Regions from separate parts of the Homo sapiens genome. Here all the other regions are linked to region 1. Evidence: promoter capture Hi-C in 16 types of primary human blood cells and fetal thymus (Javierre and others, 2016). All regions are on one chromosome and are shown on one strand. The core of a region is centred on a gene start or on the middle of the fragment in contact, and the rest is flanking DNA. Distances in the headings are between cores, read along the strand shown.

Region 1 (5,146 bases), core at 1,719-4,218:
AAAGTGCTGGGATTACAGGCCCACTGCACCTGGCCTCAATAGTGTCTCTAGAACAACCCAACATCCACATGCAAAAAGATGAATTGAGAACATTACCTCACACCATGCAATTAGATTAACTCAAAGTTAATCTTAGTAACAGATCTAAATTGAAGAAGTAAAACTTGTAGAAACACTAGAAGAAAACAAAGGAGAAAGTCATTGCATGCTTAGATTAGGCAAAGATTTCTTGAGTAAGATACCAAAAATAAGATCCATAAAATAACTCACTGATAAACCAAACTTCATGAAAACATCATTACCAATTTTGCATCTCAAAAGACGCAGTGGGTTTGTGTTGTTTCATGCACACGAACAATGGGTTTGGGTTGTTTACTGCAGCCCTGGCCACAGTGTGCACTGACCCTGTGATCATAGTGTGCTACATCTGCCTTGAATAATTACCAGAGTTCAGTCCCCTGGGATCACACATGTGCTGTCCAACTCTAGGACCAACTGGAGTTTGCAAGACCCTGGGTATGTGCTGTGTATTACATAACTCCAGCACTGACCAGGACATGCAATTACCCTGTCCAGGTGTCCTGTCCAGCTCCAGCACTGGAATGTGGCATCCTTTAAAAGGGGAATACTCTTTCTGTCTGGCTCCCAGCTGATCCCTAGAGTTTAGACGGGCCTCACATATAGTACATGGTGAGTGTAGAAGAGAGAGTAAGGAATACGTGTTCATTTTGCTTGGTCACCTTTGAAACTCCTGACAATACGGGTTCAAGTCTTCATCCAACTGCCCAGAGAAACTGACATCACCAAATTAAGTTTCCCTGCCATTCAGAAGTTGCAGCTGTTTCCAGCTGTTGGGATGCTTGCCAGCCATTCACTGTCACACCTGACCCACCCCTAGCATCTGGGCCAACACTGCTTCTCATCCTGCTGGTCTCAGAAGGTCCCAGATTGGGGAAAGGGATGTCTGGGTCAGTGTAGACAGAATTGCTCTTACAACTGCAAACTGTGCTGCTTTCTGGGATCAGAGATTCCTCACACAAAAATCTCTCAGGTGACAGAAGTGGGCATCCAGAGCTATTCCTAAGACGAGATCCTTTGGGCTGGGTGAACCATGCCCCTGGCTTAGAGGCCAGCTAATCTGGAATCCCAGGTCGGTCATTTGGGGACATCTCTTCCCCAGTGTGTCTCTCAGCACAGGGATTCCATGTCACTTAACAGATGGTAAGATCACAGGGTGACTTTAGTCAGAGGAAAACGCCCTGGAGAACTGTTTAAAACTCTCTAACGGGCCAGGCACGGTGACTCACGCCTCTAATCCCAGCACTTTGGGAGGCGGAGGTGGGTGGATCACCTGAGGTCAGGAGTTCCAGAACAGCCTGGCTAACATGGAGAAACCCCATCTCTATTAAAAATACAAAAAATTAGCCGGGTGTGGTGGCACACGCCTGTAATCCCAGCTACTCAGGAGGCTGAGGCAGGAGAGTCATTTGAACCTGGGAGGCGGAGGTTGCAGTAAGCCAAGATCGTGCCATTGCACTCCAGCCTGGGCAACAAGAGTAAAACTCCATCTCAAAACAAAAACAAAAACAAACCCCAAAAACAACAAACAACAAACAAAAACCTCTGTATAAGGCAGGGTCTCTCATTGGAGCCAAGGTCTGTCATGTGGGGCCGCGTCATTCCTTGCAGTGGAAGCTGACCTGCACATCGAAAGCTGTTTACCAGCATTCCTGGCCTGCACCCACTTAATGCCAACACCAAATGCCTCTCCCTATTTGTGACAACCAAAAATACCTCCAGACATTTCCCAGCGGCCTCAGGGAGACAAAAATCCCCCCCAGGGCTGAGAACCACTATTCTAAGGGATGCCAGCTTTGAAAGAAGCATTAGGATGAAAATTTGTAGGGTTCCGATTTCACGAAGCCTAGGAGAGGGAAGTCTGGATGCTCAGAGCGCAGTAGACTGTCTTGCTTTTAAAACTGTGACCAGCAAGGACCAACTACTCACTGCAAATAACGACACCCACCTAGTCTCACTGCTTACCAGTTTTCTGGAAACTCCTAAACAAGGGCTGCTTGAACAAGCCGCCTTCTAAACGCCCAGCTGGACTAAAAGGCTGGTCTTGTGCAGACCAGGGCAGCCCCCCTGAACCCGCAGCCCTGCAGAGCTCACCCGAACTTGCCAGGTTTAGAAATATTCTCTGTGAAGCCAACTTAGCAGTACTCCCCAGCAGTTAGTTAATTCACCTTCTCCCCGCTGTCAACCCACCAGAAGCCTGCAAGCAAACCTCTAGAAAAATGTAGAAGCAAAACAAACACTTCCTCCTCCCTCACCACGCCCACCCACGGGAAAGTGCCCCTTCGCACTCTCCTCCCACTTCTCAGCCAAGACGCTCCTCTTACCTTCATACCTTGGACAACTGGAAATCGCCACCCATGATGACAGCCCGGGTCACACGAAGGGGGCGAGGTGGGGCGGGGGGAGCTGACCTCAGCACCTTTAGCTTTTGGGAGTCCCTGTACCTCCACAGAGCCACTTCGGAAACTTTAGGGCGCCCCCTCCTCAAGACGATTCGGGAACAAGAGGCCAGGTCCAGCCCAGCGCGGAGGCTGTGTGGCCTTGGGCAGGTCGCTGCAACACTCTGAGCCAGTACCCGCGACCCCCACCCCAGAAGGCGACCGACCTCCTCTGTCGCCGGAGGATACTCACGGGGCCTGAGGCTGCGCGGCGCGCACGCCGTCCCGCGCCGACAGCAGCAGGAGCAGGAGCGGGAGCAACGGCCAGAGCAGGGCGCCGCTCATTTTTCGGCTCCTGGGGGGCGCCGCGCCTGGGGAGGGGGCCGGGCCAGGGCTGGGCCAGGGCCAGGGTCCGAGCGCGGCCGTCCTCGCGCCGCCGCCGGGGGCCCTTTGTTCGCAGCCCCCGCGCAGTGCGCCCGGCGCCATGCGCCCCGCTCCGCGCCCGGCCAAGCTGGGGCAGCCCCGGGCCAGCCCCCTCCCCGGACCCGCCTCGTCTCCGGGACCGCCCCGCTCGCCCCGCTCGCCCCGCTCCTGGGCGCACCCTCCCGGGACGCCTGCTCCGCCCATCTCCGGACCCCGACCCGCCCCGATCCCTTCCGGGGATCGTCCCCTCACTTACTCACCGGACCCACCCGGGCCCTGCCCGATTCCTTCCGAACCCGCCTCCTCACCCCCTACCCGGATTCGCCCCCGGATGCCCCCCTCCCCACCAGCCCCGCCTCGGACCCGACCCCCCACCGCCCCCACTCTCCCTCTCCTCTCCACCCAGCGTCCACTCGGAACCTGTCCCTTCCCTGGCCTCTCCCTCCCTCCCTCCCCAGCCAGCCCCTTATGGCCCCCTCCCCGGGCCCGCCCCTCACCAGGGGCCCCTGGGTCTGGACGCCGCCTGCAACCCCGATCCCACAGGCGCCGCCGTGCCCTAAGCCCTGGCCTGTATCTAGTGCCCAGTGCAGTGCGTACAGCCCAAGGAGCAGAGGACCCTTTGGGGAAACAGTCTAGCCAGGGGTCGAACCTCCCAGACTCACATCTGCCCCAGGTCCCTATCTGTGCTCTCTGCTCCCCTCTCCCCCACCCCCACTGTCCACAAATCCCTTGGGCCCGTCCCCTCTCTCGCTGGGCCTCAGAGTCCCCCTTTCCCCTTCATACAGCAGGGGTGGATGGGCACCCCCTTTCTCTCCAAGAGCAGGGTGTCCCCTCCTGCCCCTCCCCGTGTGGCCACCTCAGTGATGGTCCTGCTGTCCTAGGTCCCACTGGCAGGCGGCACATCCTATACCATGTCCAAGTCCTGGACCCCCTCCTTCCAGTGTGGAACCCCCTTCCCCCAGCTACCAACTGCCCTTCTTCTAAAATTCCAGTGCTGACCACACCCCCTCCTGCCCGGAATCCTCGGGGCTCCCTGTTTATTTTACATTTTATTTTTATGTTTTGAGACCAGAGTTTTGCTCTGTTGCCCAGGCAGGAATTTAGTGGTGCAGTCACAGCTCACTGCAGCTTCAGACTCCTGGAGAGTAGCTGGGACTACAGGTGCAAGCCCGCACCCAGCTAATTTTTATATATTTTTTTTTAGAAACGGAGTCGCACTGTGTTGCCCAGGCTGGTCTTGAGCACTGGGCTCAAATGATCCTCCCTCCTCAGCCTCCCAAAGTGCTGGGATTACAGGTGTGAGCCACCACATCCAGCCAGGGCTTCCCGTTTATTGAGACCAAATCTAAACTCTGGCTTTGATGGCAGAGACCTCAGCCTAGTTCCTCCAACACCCTGTTCTTACTCCACTGCCTGCTTCTGCCTAATCTCTGTCTTCCTCTACCTGCCTCCTTTGCCAGTCCAACTCCTGATCCTTCCAGGAAACTCAAGGGAAGCTTCTCTTGCCCCCTCCCTGCCCCTAGGGATGTGGGTCCTCTGGGGGCTTCTCAGCCCTGTCAACAGCCTTTGGACCCAACACTGATCACCCAGGCAGCACCAAGCCCTGGGCTGGGCAATGAGGACCCTGGGACATACAGGACCTGCTGCCACTGAGCACACAACCCAGAGGGGACGTAACTGATGATGGTGTGTTGGTGTGTGTGTGTGCGTGCACGCGCGCAGGGGCCGGAGTAGATTGAGTAGCCGTCTCTCCTGCCTGGAGAAGAGGAGGAGCTGCCTGCCTCCAAGCTCAGACCAGGCCAACCCCAAACAGGCTGCTAAACTCACATGGAGGTGCAAAAATCTAGCACCAAGAAGCAGCATCTGATCTCACCCTCATCATCGAAGTTTGCCCCATGCCACCCCTCCGGGCCCCTCCAGGCCAACTCTGACTCCTACCTAAGCCAACCTCCACTCCTCAGCCTCCAGGCCAGCCTTTGAGCCCTCCGCCTCCCCCTTGACCATTGGGCTCTGGCCACATTTGCTCCTGAGATACATCAGACCCCCACCCACCACCACCATCTTGGGCCAAGGTGCCAGCTGTCCCCTCTGCCTGGGATGCACTTCCCCGTGGCATCACAAGACCGGCTGCTCTCCTCCACCTTCAGGGTTAGCCCGGAGGTGCCTTCCCTGCCTGCCTGGTTTGTAAGGTCTAAAATGTCAGTGCTGCCTTGGCATGGTTGAGCCACACAGGACCACGATGTCCTGACCGACCGTTCAGCTACTCT
Region 2 (5,146 bases), core at 1,581-4,080, 230 kb before region 1:
GTTTCTTGGGAACTCAGTGACCTTGGTTGTGTCATTCACCATTCTGAGTCTTATTGCTGCCTCTTCCTCATAAGATCATGAGACATATCCTGGCATAGTGCTTAGCACACTGTAAGCACCAAATAATTGATATCTATTTATTATTATGTTACATAAGTAATTGGTGGTTGTTGACAGTAATATCAGTGCATATAAATCATGCTGCCCAAAATAGGAGTCACCAACCAGATGTACCTATTAAACACTTGAAATTCGGGGGGTAGGGGGTAAGGGGAGGGAGAGCATTAGGACAAATACCTAATGCATGTGGGGCTTAAAACCTAGATGACGGGTTGATAGTTGCAGCAAACCACCATGGCACATGTATACCTATGTAACAAACCTGCACGTTCGGCACATGTATCCCAAAACTGAAAGTAACATTAAAAAAAAATAAATAAATAAATAAATAAATAAATAAATAAAAACACTTGAAATGTGACTGTCCCAACATGCTGAAATTCAAAGACCTAGTATAGTAAAAATAATATAAACCATCTCAATAATAATTTTTGTATTGATTACATGTTGAAGTGATACCACTTGGACATATTAGGTTGAATAAAATATAATACTAAAATTGATTTCACTTGTTTCTTTGTACCTTTTGTAAGGTAGCTAATGAGTTTAAAATCACATGTGAGGCCTGGCCCACCTCTCCTTTTTTTCTCTGAATTGGGAGTGTTAAAAATAAAATGCATAGGCCGGGTGCAGTGGCTCACACTCATAATCCCAGCACTTTGAGAGGCTGAGCAGGGAGGATAGTTTGAGCCCAGGAGCTCAGGAGCAGCCTGGGCAACATAGTCAGACCCTGCCTCTACAAAAACAAATTTAAAAATAGCCAGGCATGGTGGTGCGTGTCTGTGGTCCCAGCTTCTTGGGAGGCTGAGGCAGGAGGATTGCTTGAGCCCAGGAGGTCGATGCTGCAGTGAGCCATGATTGCACCACTGCACTCCAGCCTGGGTGAAAAAGAGAGGCTCTGTCTCCAAAAGAAAAGAAAATGCATAAAGTATACAAGAGAAGGCATCTTGCATTTGACTCCGGGAAACTTGTAGTCTAGGTCTCCTGCCAAGATGCTGCTTCCTCTTCATTATTCTATTAGATCAATGCTTGGAATCTGGAAACTGCAGAGCCGGTATTCCATATCCTGGGAGATGCCTCTGATCCTTGGATGTGCATGGCCGTGCTGGCCTCCCAGGCCACACTGCTGACAGTGTCCAGGGATGGTGTGGTCAGTCTGTGGAGCTCAGCTACGGGAAAACTTCAGGGGAAGCAACATATGTCCAGCATCAAAGAAGAAACACCTACCTGTGCCGTCTCAGTCCAGAAGCAAGGAAAGCTTGTTACCGGGTTTAGCAATGGCTCCATCTCTTTGGTAAGCACCTTTACTGACTATGATGTGAACATTAACTCAGCTTGAAAGTGCTCAGATGTGCTAGAAGTTGGGAAAAATAATCTTGCCTTGTATCTTTGTTTTGTTTTGGAGATGAAGTTTCACTTTTGTTGCCCAGGCTGGAGTGCAATGGTGTAATCTCAGCTCACTGCAACCTCCGCCTCTCGGGTTCAAGCGATTCTCACTGCCTCAGCCTTCCGAGTAGCTGGGATTACAGGCAAGTGCCACCACGCCTGGCTAATTTTGTGTTTTTAGTAGAGACAGGGTTTCTCCATGTTGGTCAGGCTGGTCTCAAACTCCCAACCTCAGATGATCTGCCCACCTCGGCCTCCCAGAGTACTGGGATTACAGGCATGAGCCACCGTGCCCGGCCACACGCTTGGCTTCTTAATCGTAGGGATTTGCAGTTCAGCACAGTTCAGGAAACATCTGTTGGCGTCTCTTGGGGACTGACCAATGTGGGCAATTGTTGAAGCTCAGTCCTTCAGGGGATCTCTAAGACATGGTGTGGAATGAGGTTGAGAGTTGCGCCACAGAGGGACTAGGAGTTGGGCTCTATCCACCTGCCCTGTTGGTGGTTGGTGGACGGCTGCTTTCATGGACATTAACATATAGACTGGCTGGGCGCTGTGTCTCACTCCTGTAATCCCAGCACTTTGGGAGGCTGAGGGGGGGTGGATCATTTGAGGTCAGGAGTTCGAGACCAGCCTGGCCAACATGGCAAAACCCTGTCTTTACTAAAAGTACAAAAATTGACCAGGCACGGTGGCTCACACCTGTAATGCCAGCACTTTGGGAGGCCGGGGCAGGTGGATCACCTGAGGTTGGGAGTTCGAGACCAGCCTGGCCAACATGAAGAAACCTCATCTCTACTAAAAAAGCATACAAAAAATTAGCCGGGCGTGGTGGTGAGCACCTGTAATCCCAACTACTTGGGAGGCTGAGGCAGGAGAATTGCTTGAACCTAGGAGGTGGAGGATGCAGTGAGCCAAGATTGCACCACTGCACTCCAGCCTGGACATTAAGAGCAAAACTCCATCTCAGAACAAAACAAAAAACAACAGCAACAAAAACAAAAGCCCAAAAATTAGCCGGGTGTGGTGGTGGGTGCCTGTGATCCCTGCTACTAGGGAGGCTGAGGCAGGAGAATCACTTGAACCCGGGAGGTGGAGGTTGCAGTGAGCCGAGATCATGCCATTGCACTCCAGCCTGGGTGACAGATCAAAACTCCATCTCAAAAAAAAAAAAAAAAAAAGAAAGGAATCATGGTGGTGCATACTTGTACTCCCAGCTACTTGAGAGGCTGATGTGGGAGGATCATTTGAGCTTAGGAGGTGGAGGCTGCAGTGAGCCAAGATTGCACCACTGCACTCCAGCCTGAGTGACAGAGCCAGGCCCTGTCTCAAAAAAATTAAAAAATAAAAAAAAAAAGAAAAGAAAAGAAGAAGAAGAATCATCCCAAATCCCAAAGCTCCACATTTCTGAACCTCATGACCTGTGGTCTTCATGAGTTCTCAAGGTACCAAATACAACAACGAAAGATACTCCCAAATCCTTGGGGTTGTTTTTCTTTTTCTCAAGCCTCTTTGCAGATATTTTGTTTTGTTTTTTGAGACAGGGTCTTACTTTATCTCTCAGGCGGGAGTGCAGTGGCACGATCATGGCTCCCTGCAGCCTCGACCTCCCGGGCTCAAGACGTCCTCTCGCCTCAGCCTCCTGAGTAGCTGGGACTACAGGCGCATGCCCCCATGCCTGGCTAATTATTATTATTATTATTTTGTAGAGGTGGGGGTCTCACTATGTTGCCTAGGCTGGTTTCAAACTTATGGGCTCATTCAGCCTTCCAAAGTGCTGGGATTACAGGCGTGACCCACTGTACCTGGCCAGAATTTGTTTTTTACCTTTTTTTTTTAACTGTTTTTTTGTTTTTTGGTTTTTGGTTGTTTTTTTTTTTGAGACTGAGTCTTGCTCTGTCGCCCAGACTGGAATGCAGTGGCGCAATCTCGGCTCACTGAAACCTCCACCTCCCAGCTTCAAGCGATTCTCCTGCCTCCGCCTCCCCAGTAGCTGGGACTACGGGCATGTGCCACCACGCCCGGCTAATTTTTGTATTTTTAGTAGAGATGGGGTTTCACCATGTTGGCCAGGATAGTCTCAAACTCCTGACCTCGAGTGATCCACCCACTTCGGTCTCCCAAAGTGCTGGGATTACAAGCATGAGCCGCCACACCTGGCCAACTTTTATGTTTTTAATTTAAAAAATTTTTTAGAGACAGAGTCTCAGTCTGTCACCCTGGCTGCAATGCAGTGGCACAATCATAGCTCACTGCAGCCTCCAACTCCTAGGGGCACAAGTGATCCTCCTGCTTGAGCCTCCTGAGTAGCTGGGACCACAGGGGTGTACCACCATGCCCAGCTAAAATTTTTATTAAGAGATGGAGTCAGCTAGGCATGGTGGCTCACGCCTGTAATCCCAGCACTTTGGGAGGCCAAGGTGGGCGGATCACCTGAGATCAAGAGTTTGAGACCAGCTTGGCCCACATGGTGAAACCCCATCTCTACTAAAAATACAAAAATTAGCCGGGCATGGTGGCAGGTGCCTGTAATCCCAGCTACTTGGGAGGCTGAGGCAGGGGAATTGCTTGAACCCGGGAGGCGGAGGTTGCAGTGAGCCAAGATCATACCACCGCACTCCTGCCTGGGAGACAGAGTGAGACTCCATCTCAAAAACAAAAAAAATAAAAATTAAAAAATTAAAAAATTCCAGACTTGTAACCCTTAACCCGTGGAAGTGCCTGACAGGCATCCCTGGTTCTGCACAGGTTTCCTCCAAAGGGGACAGATTGCTGGAGAAGCTTCCAGATGCTGTGAGGTTCCTGGTGGTCTCTGAAGATGAGTCCCTCCTCGCCGCAGGTAGCGTTTAGCTCTCATTTGGAGTAGTGAGGAAGCTAATCAGGATCAGGTTGGAGAAGGGGGTGGGGCTTGGGAACAGAGAGAAGTCCTAGGGCCAGAGGTTAGCAACGTTTTCTGCCAAATGGCCTCATAGTAAACATTTTTTGCAGTCCAGACGAGACAACCTCAGTTGCAAAGACTCAACTCTGCAGTTGTGGTACATAAACTAGCATAGACACTATTTTTCTATTATTTTTCTTTTTTTTTTAAATAGGGTCTTGCTGTGTCACCCAGACTGGAGTGGAGTGGCTCAATCATAATTCATTGCAGCCTTGAATTTCTGGGCTCAAACGATCCTCCCACGTCAGCTTCCTGAATAGCTGGGATTACAGGCACACACCACCACACCCAGCTAATTTTTGTATTTTTAGTACAGACGGAGTTTCACCATGTTGGCCAGGCTGGTCTCGAATTCCTGACCTCAGGTGATTCGCCCACCTTAGCCTCCCAAAGTGCTGGGATTACACAGGCGTGAGCCATTGCGCCCAGCCCTTTCTTTCCTTTTGATGCAGGATTTTTCTTGGCCTCTTTGCCAAGCTGGGAGCAGGGGGCACCCCATTTATTCAGCCTGTGGGGTCACATCTGGCTTTTGGCCCAGCCCGCGGCTCCCATGGCCACTGCCACGACTGAGCACTCAGCCCCTAGCAGGAGGGAGCATGTGAGCAAGTGAATGTAGGGTCCAGCTGGCTGCTTCAAGCACTGACACAGGGCCAGGCTCCATGCAGGGCCCATGGGCAGACCAGGCCATGTGTCACCCCAAAG
Region 3 (5,146 bases), core at 1,791-4,290, 210 kb before region 1:
CTGTCTTATTCATCCATTTTCCAAACCAGTTTTCCAAGGCAGGTTTTGGTAGTTCTGCAAATGTTAGTGTCAAATTTCATTTAAAAATATTTTAAACTGTAATTTTAAGATGTATGCTTGGATGTATTGGGCAGCAGCTTCTAAGGTGTTGAAGATTACTAAGGTTGGTGCAAAAAGTAACTGTGGTTTTCGCCATTAAAAATATTAAAAATAATGGCAAAAACTGGCTGGGCACAGTGGCTCACACCTGTGGTCCCAGCTCTTTGGAAGGCCGAGGCAGGTGGATCACCTGAGGTCAGGAGTTTGAGACCAGCCTGGACAACATGGTGAAACCCTTCTCTACTAAAAATACAAAAATCAGCCAGGCATGGTGGTGAGTGCCTGTAATCTCAGTTACTCAGGAGGCTGAGTCAGGAGAATCACTTGAACCCGGGAGGCGGAGGTTGCAGTGAGCTGAGATTGTGCCACTGCACTCCAGCCTGGGTGACAGAGCAAGACTCCATCTCATAATAATAATAATAATGGCAAAAGCCTCGGTGGCTCACGCCTGTAATCCCAGCACTTTGGGAGGCTGAGGCGGGTGGATCACTTGAGGCCAGGTGTTCAAGAGCAGCCTGGTCAACATGGTGAAACTCTGTCTCTACTCAAAAATACAAAAATTAGCCTGGTGTGGTGACGTACACCTGTAATTCCAGCTACTTGGGAGGCTGAGGCAGGAGAATGGCTTGAACCCGGGAGGCGGAGGTTGCAGTGAGCCGAGATCGCACCACTGCACTCCAGCATGAGTGACAGAGACTCTGTCTCCAAAAAAAAAAAAAAAAAAAAGTAATGGCAAAAACCACAATTAATTTTGCATCAACCTAATAATTTAGGATTCTTCTGCCATTTTCATTTAACTGATTTAACTGAAGAGCCCAATTAAATTGTGAAGGGAGCCCTGAAAAAATTAGCTACTCTTTGCCACTGCTTCTCTGTGAATCAAGGGCTTACCCAATGCAGAAATAAAGTAGATGTTGAGACCAATTAAGATTTCACCTACAAATTCTGATTTTAAATGCCTGTGTCCATCTCCACAGCCTCAGTGAGAATTGATTGTTTTGTAGATAAATCCTAATTTAAACATTGGAAATGCCTTTTTACTAATAAAATGCTACAACAAATTATTGCTTATATTGGGAGTTTTTGCAGTGTTTATTCATTTGAAAAAGAGTTTGGTTGCTAAGAAAGTTTGACAGTTGGCTGGTCAATGCTTGTAATCCCAGCACTTTGAAAGGCCAAGGTAGAAGGATCACTTGAGCCCAGGAGTTTGAGACCCTGTCTCTCCAAAAAAAAAAAAAAAAATTTTTTTTTAATTAGCTGGGCATGGTGGTGCACACCTGCAGTCCTAGCTACTCAGGGGGCCAAGGTGGGAGGATCACTTGAGCCCAGGAGATCAAGGCTGTAGTTAGCTATGATCGCACCACTGCACTCTAGCCTGGGCAAGAGAGTGAGACCATGTCTCAGAAAAAAAATAAAATAAAATTAAGGGATGCCGAAAAGCTCAGCAATCATGACAAATAATGTTTTCTCTCTCTTTTTTTTCTTGTTTTCTTTTCTTTTGGAAGACAAATAATATTTTGTTATCTTTTTTTTTTTTTTTTGTCAAGGCCTTGCTCTGCTGCCAGACTAGAGTGCAATGGTGCGACCTCGGCTCATTGCACCTCTGACTCCTGGATTCAAGCGATTCTCCTGACTCAGCCTCCTGAGTAGCTGGGACTACAGGCCACCACGCCCAGCTAATTTTTGTATTTTTTGTAGAGACGAGGTTTTGCCATGTTGGCCAAGCTGGCCCTGAACTCCTGACCTCAAGTGATCTGTGCTCCCTTGGCCTCCCAAAGTGCTGGGATTACAGGCATGAGCCACCGTGTGTGGCCTATTATCATATTTTTAAAAATCAAAATGAATTTAAAAATGAATGATGAACAAAACATCAACATTCTATATAAAATTGGTATCTGACCCTGCATTTGCAGGAACTGACCTCACCCTCTTCCTGGCCCTGGGGACATCAAGACACCTCACCCCTACATACATCAGACAAGTGTCTTAGGAAGGTCATATTCCTATATAAGCACACACACCTGTGAGAATTACTAATTGTTAGTTAATATCTTTTTTATTTTTCAGAGAGGGTCTCTCTCTGTCGCCCAGGCTGGAGTGCAGTGGTATGATCATGGGTCACTGCAGCCTTGAACTTATGAGCTCAAGTGATCCTCCTGCCTCAGCCTCCCAAGTAGCTGAAACTACAGATGTGCACAACCATACCTGGTTAATTTTTAAATTTATTGTAGAGAGGGTGTCTCACTATATTGCCCAGGCTGGTCTCCAACTCTTGGGCTCAAGCGATCCCCCCAGTGTGCTGGGATTACATGGCGCCTGGCCATCAGAAATATTTCTAATCTGGCCCTTTACCAAAATATATATATATATTTACCAAATATATACGTGTCTATATATATACATGCACATATATACACATATATACACACACATATATACACATATATATACACATATACATATATACGTATATATGTGTGTATATACACACATACATATGTATATATGTATATATACACATACATATGTATATATGTATATATACACACACATATGTATATACATATGTGTATATGCACATATATACATACACACACACACACATATACTTATGTATATATGCCTACCCTTGGTCTTAAAGCTTGGCTAAATTTAGGGTAAACATCTTTTATATAGGCTTTCTTTTTTTAGAGTAGTTTTAGGTTCACAGCAAAATTAAGTGGAAGGTGCAGAGATTTCCCATCTACCCTATGCACCCCTCATGCACAGCCTCCTCCATCAACATCCCTCACTCTAACAAACGCAGAGCGGTGCATTTGTTACAATGGATGAACTCGCATTGACACTTCCTTATCAGAGGAGAGACAATTTTTTTTTTTTGAGACGGAGTTTTGCTCTTGTTGCCCAGGCTGGAGTGCAATGGTGCGATCTCGGCTCACTGCAACCTCCGCCTCCCGGGTTCAAGCCGTTCTCCTGCCTCAGCCTCCCAAGTAGCTGGAATTACAGGTGTACGCCACCACACCAGGCTAATTTTTGTATTTTTAGTAGAGACAGGGTTTTGCCATTTTGGCCAGGCTGGTCTGAAACTCCTGGCCTCAAGTGATCCACCCGACTTGGCCTCCCAAAGTGCTGGGATGACAGGCATGAGCCACTGCAACTGGCCCAGGATAGACATTTTTGACAAGTATACTTCATAGGTGTGTCCATTCTCCATCACTACTTAGTAAATTATTGCAAAGTTAGAAGCTTAAAATAACATCCACTTCTTATCTTACAATTTCTGCAAGTCAGGAGTCTGGGCATGGCATGACTGGATTCTTTGTTCAGGATCTCACAAGGTGTCAGCCGGACTGGGCTCTCATTGAGAGCCTCAGGGTCTTCATCCAAGCTCCTTCAGATTCTTGGCAGAATTAAGCCCTTCAAAGCTATAGGAGTGGAGACCTCAGCTGCCCCTCTCCATAGGCAGTTTGCAAAACAGCTGCTTCCTTCTTCAAGGCCAGCAGCATTGTATTTCTCTGATGCTTCATCTCTGACCTCAAACTCAGACTCAGACTCAGACTCAGATTGTCTTTTAAAAAAATTTTTTTTTGGCCAGGTGCAGTGGTTCACACCTGTAATCCCAGCACTTTGGAAGGCCCAGGCTGGCAGATCATGAGGTCAAGAGATACAGACCATCCTGGCCAACATGGTGAAACCCTGTCTCTACTAAAAATGCAAAAAATTAGCTGGGCATGGTGGTGCGCGCCTGTAGTCTCAGCTACTCAGGAGGCTGAGGCAGGAGAATCAGTTGAACCCAGGAGATGGAGGTTGCTGTGAGCCAACATCATGCCACTGCACTCTAGCCTGGTGACAGAGTGAGACTCTGTCTCAAAAAACAAAAAAAATTTTTTTAGAGATGAGGTCTTGCTGTGTTGCCCAGGCTGGTCTCAAACTCCTGGCCTCAAGTGATCCGCCTGCCTCTCAAAGTGCTGGGATTACAGGTTTGAGCCACTGCACCTGGCCCAGTAGCACCTTTTTATGTTTGATAAAAATAAGAATATCCAGCCTAGGCAACTTAGTGAGACCCTGTCTGTAAAAAAAATAAAAATAAAAAATTAGCCAGGCATGGTGGCACGTACCTGTAGTCCTGGCTACTCAGGAGGTCAAGGCTGCAGTGAGCTGTGATTGCACCATTGCACTCCAGCCTGGGCAACAGAGCGAGTACCTGTTTCAGAAAATAAATAAATGGAAATAAAATTAAAAGATGTCTTTGTACTATTGTCCTCATGATAAATATACACATGTGTGCACATACATACATGTACACACATGCCCCAGATGGAACTGGCTTGTGGTTTTGTCAGAGGCGTTTGAAACAAGCTTACTCCATCTAGAATAGGGGCTGGGTAAAATGAGGCTGAGACCTGCAGGGCTGCATTCCCGGGAGGTTAGGCATTCTAAGCCACAGGGTGAGGTAGGAGGTGGACGGAAGACCCAGGTCACAAAGACCCTGCTGATAAAACAGGATTCTGGGGCGGGGTGGGGGTCGGGGGGCATTGTTTGTTTGTTTGTTTTTGTTTTTGTTTGAGACAGAGTTTCGCTCTTGTTGCCCAGGCTAGAGTGCAATGAATGGCGCGATCTTGGCTCACTGCAAACTCTGCCTCCTGGGTTCAAGAGATTCCCCTGTCTCAGCCTCCTGAGTAGCTGGTATTATAGGCACATGCTACCATGCCTGGCTAATTTTTGTATTTTTAGTAGAGACGGAGTTTCATCATATTTATCAGGCTGGTCTCGAACTCCTGACCTCGGGTGATCCACCTGCCTCGGCCTCCCAAAGTGCTGGGATTACAGGCGTGAGCCACTGCGCCCGGCCCATGCAGGGTTTTTGTTGTTGTTGTTGTTGTTGTTGTTTTTGAGACAGAGTCTTGCTCTGTCACCCAGGCTGGAGTGCAGTGGCATGGTCTTGGCTCACTGAAACCTCCACCTCCTGGGTTCAAGCGATTCTCCTGCCTCAGCCTCCTGAGTAGCTGGGATTACAGGCGCCCGCCACCACGCCTGGCTAATTTTT

Evidence for each region. The method cuts DNA at HindIII sites, captures the fragments that hold promoters and counts their contacts. A CHiCAGO score of 5 or more calls a contact.
Region 2: a contact is called between a fragment that was not itself captured here and the fragment with the promoter of CPAMD8 in region 1, in 8 of 17 cell types (endothelial precursors, M0 macrophages, erythroblasts and 5 more). The highest score is 9.2, in endothelial precursors.
Region 3: a contact is called between a fragment that was not itself captured here and the fragment with the promoter of CPAMD8 in region 1, in 1 of 17 cell types (endothelial precursors). The highest score is 6.3, in endothelial precursors.

Annotation. Positions count from the first base shown.
Region 1 is chr19:17,023,842-17,028,987 of GRCh38, forward strand. It overlaps CPAMD8 (C3 and PZP like alpha-2-macroglobulin domain containing 8), which reads right to left and starts at 2,969. Exons shown (of 42, transcript NM_015692.5): 1 at 2,710-2,969. The coding sequence starts at 2,801. RefSeq lists an enhancer at 3,141-4,049. The HindIII fragment of the contact is 6,852 bases long and covers 1-4,373 here.
Region 2 is chr19:16,790,209-16,795,354 of GRCh38, forward strand. NWD1 (NACHT and WD repeat domain containing 1) reads left to right here. Exons shown (of 19, transcript NM_001007525.5): 14 at 1,142-1,414; 15 at 4,255-4,345. Among named protein-coding and RNA genes, the nearest start is that of SIN3B, 37 kb to the right of the region's middle. The HindIII fragment of the contact is 2,909 bases long and covers 1,377-4,285 here.
Region 3 is chr19:16,816,794-16,821,939 of GRCh38, forward strand. It overlaps LOC124904648 (a long non-coding RNA gene), which reads right to left and starts at 4,439. Exons shown (of 3, transcript XR_007067150.1): 1 at 4,398-4,439; 2 at 4,218-4,303. It overlaps NWD1 (NACHT and WD repeat domain containing 1), which reads left to right. Exons shown (of 19, transcript NM_001007525.5): 19 at 1-1,160. RefSeq lists a silencer at 687-883. The HindIII fragment of the contact is 605 bases long and covers 2,739-3,343 here.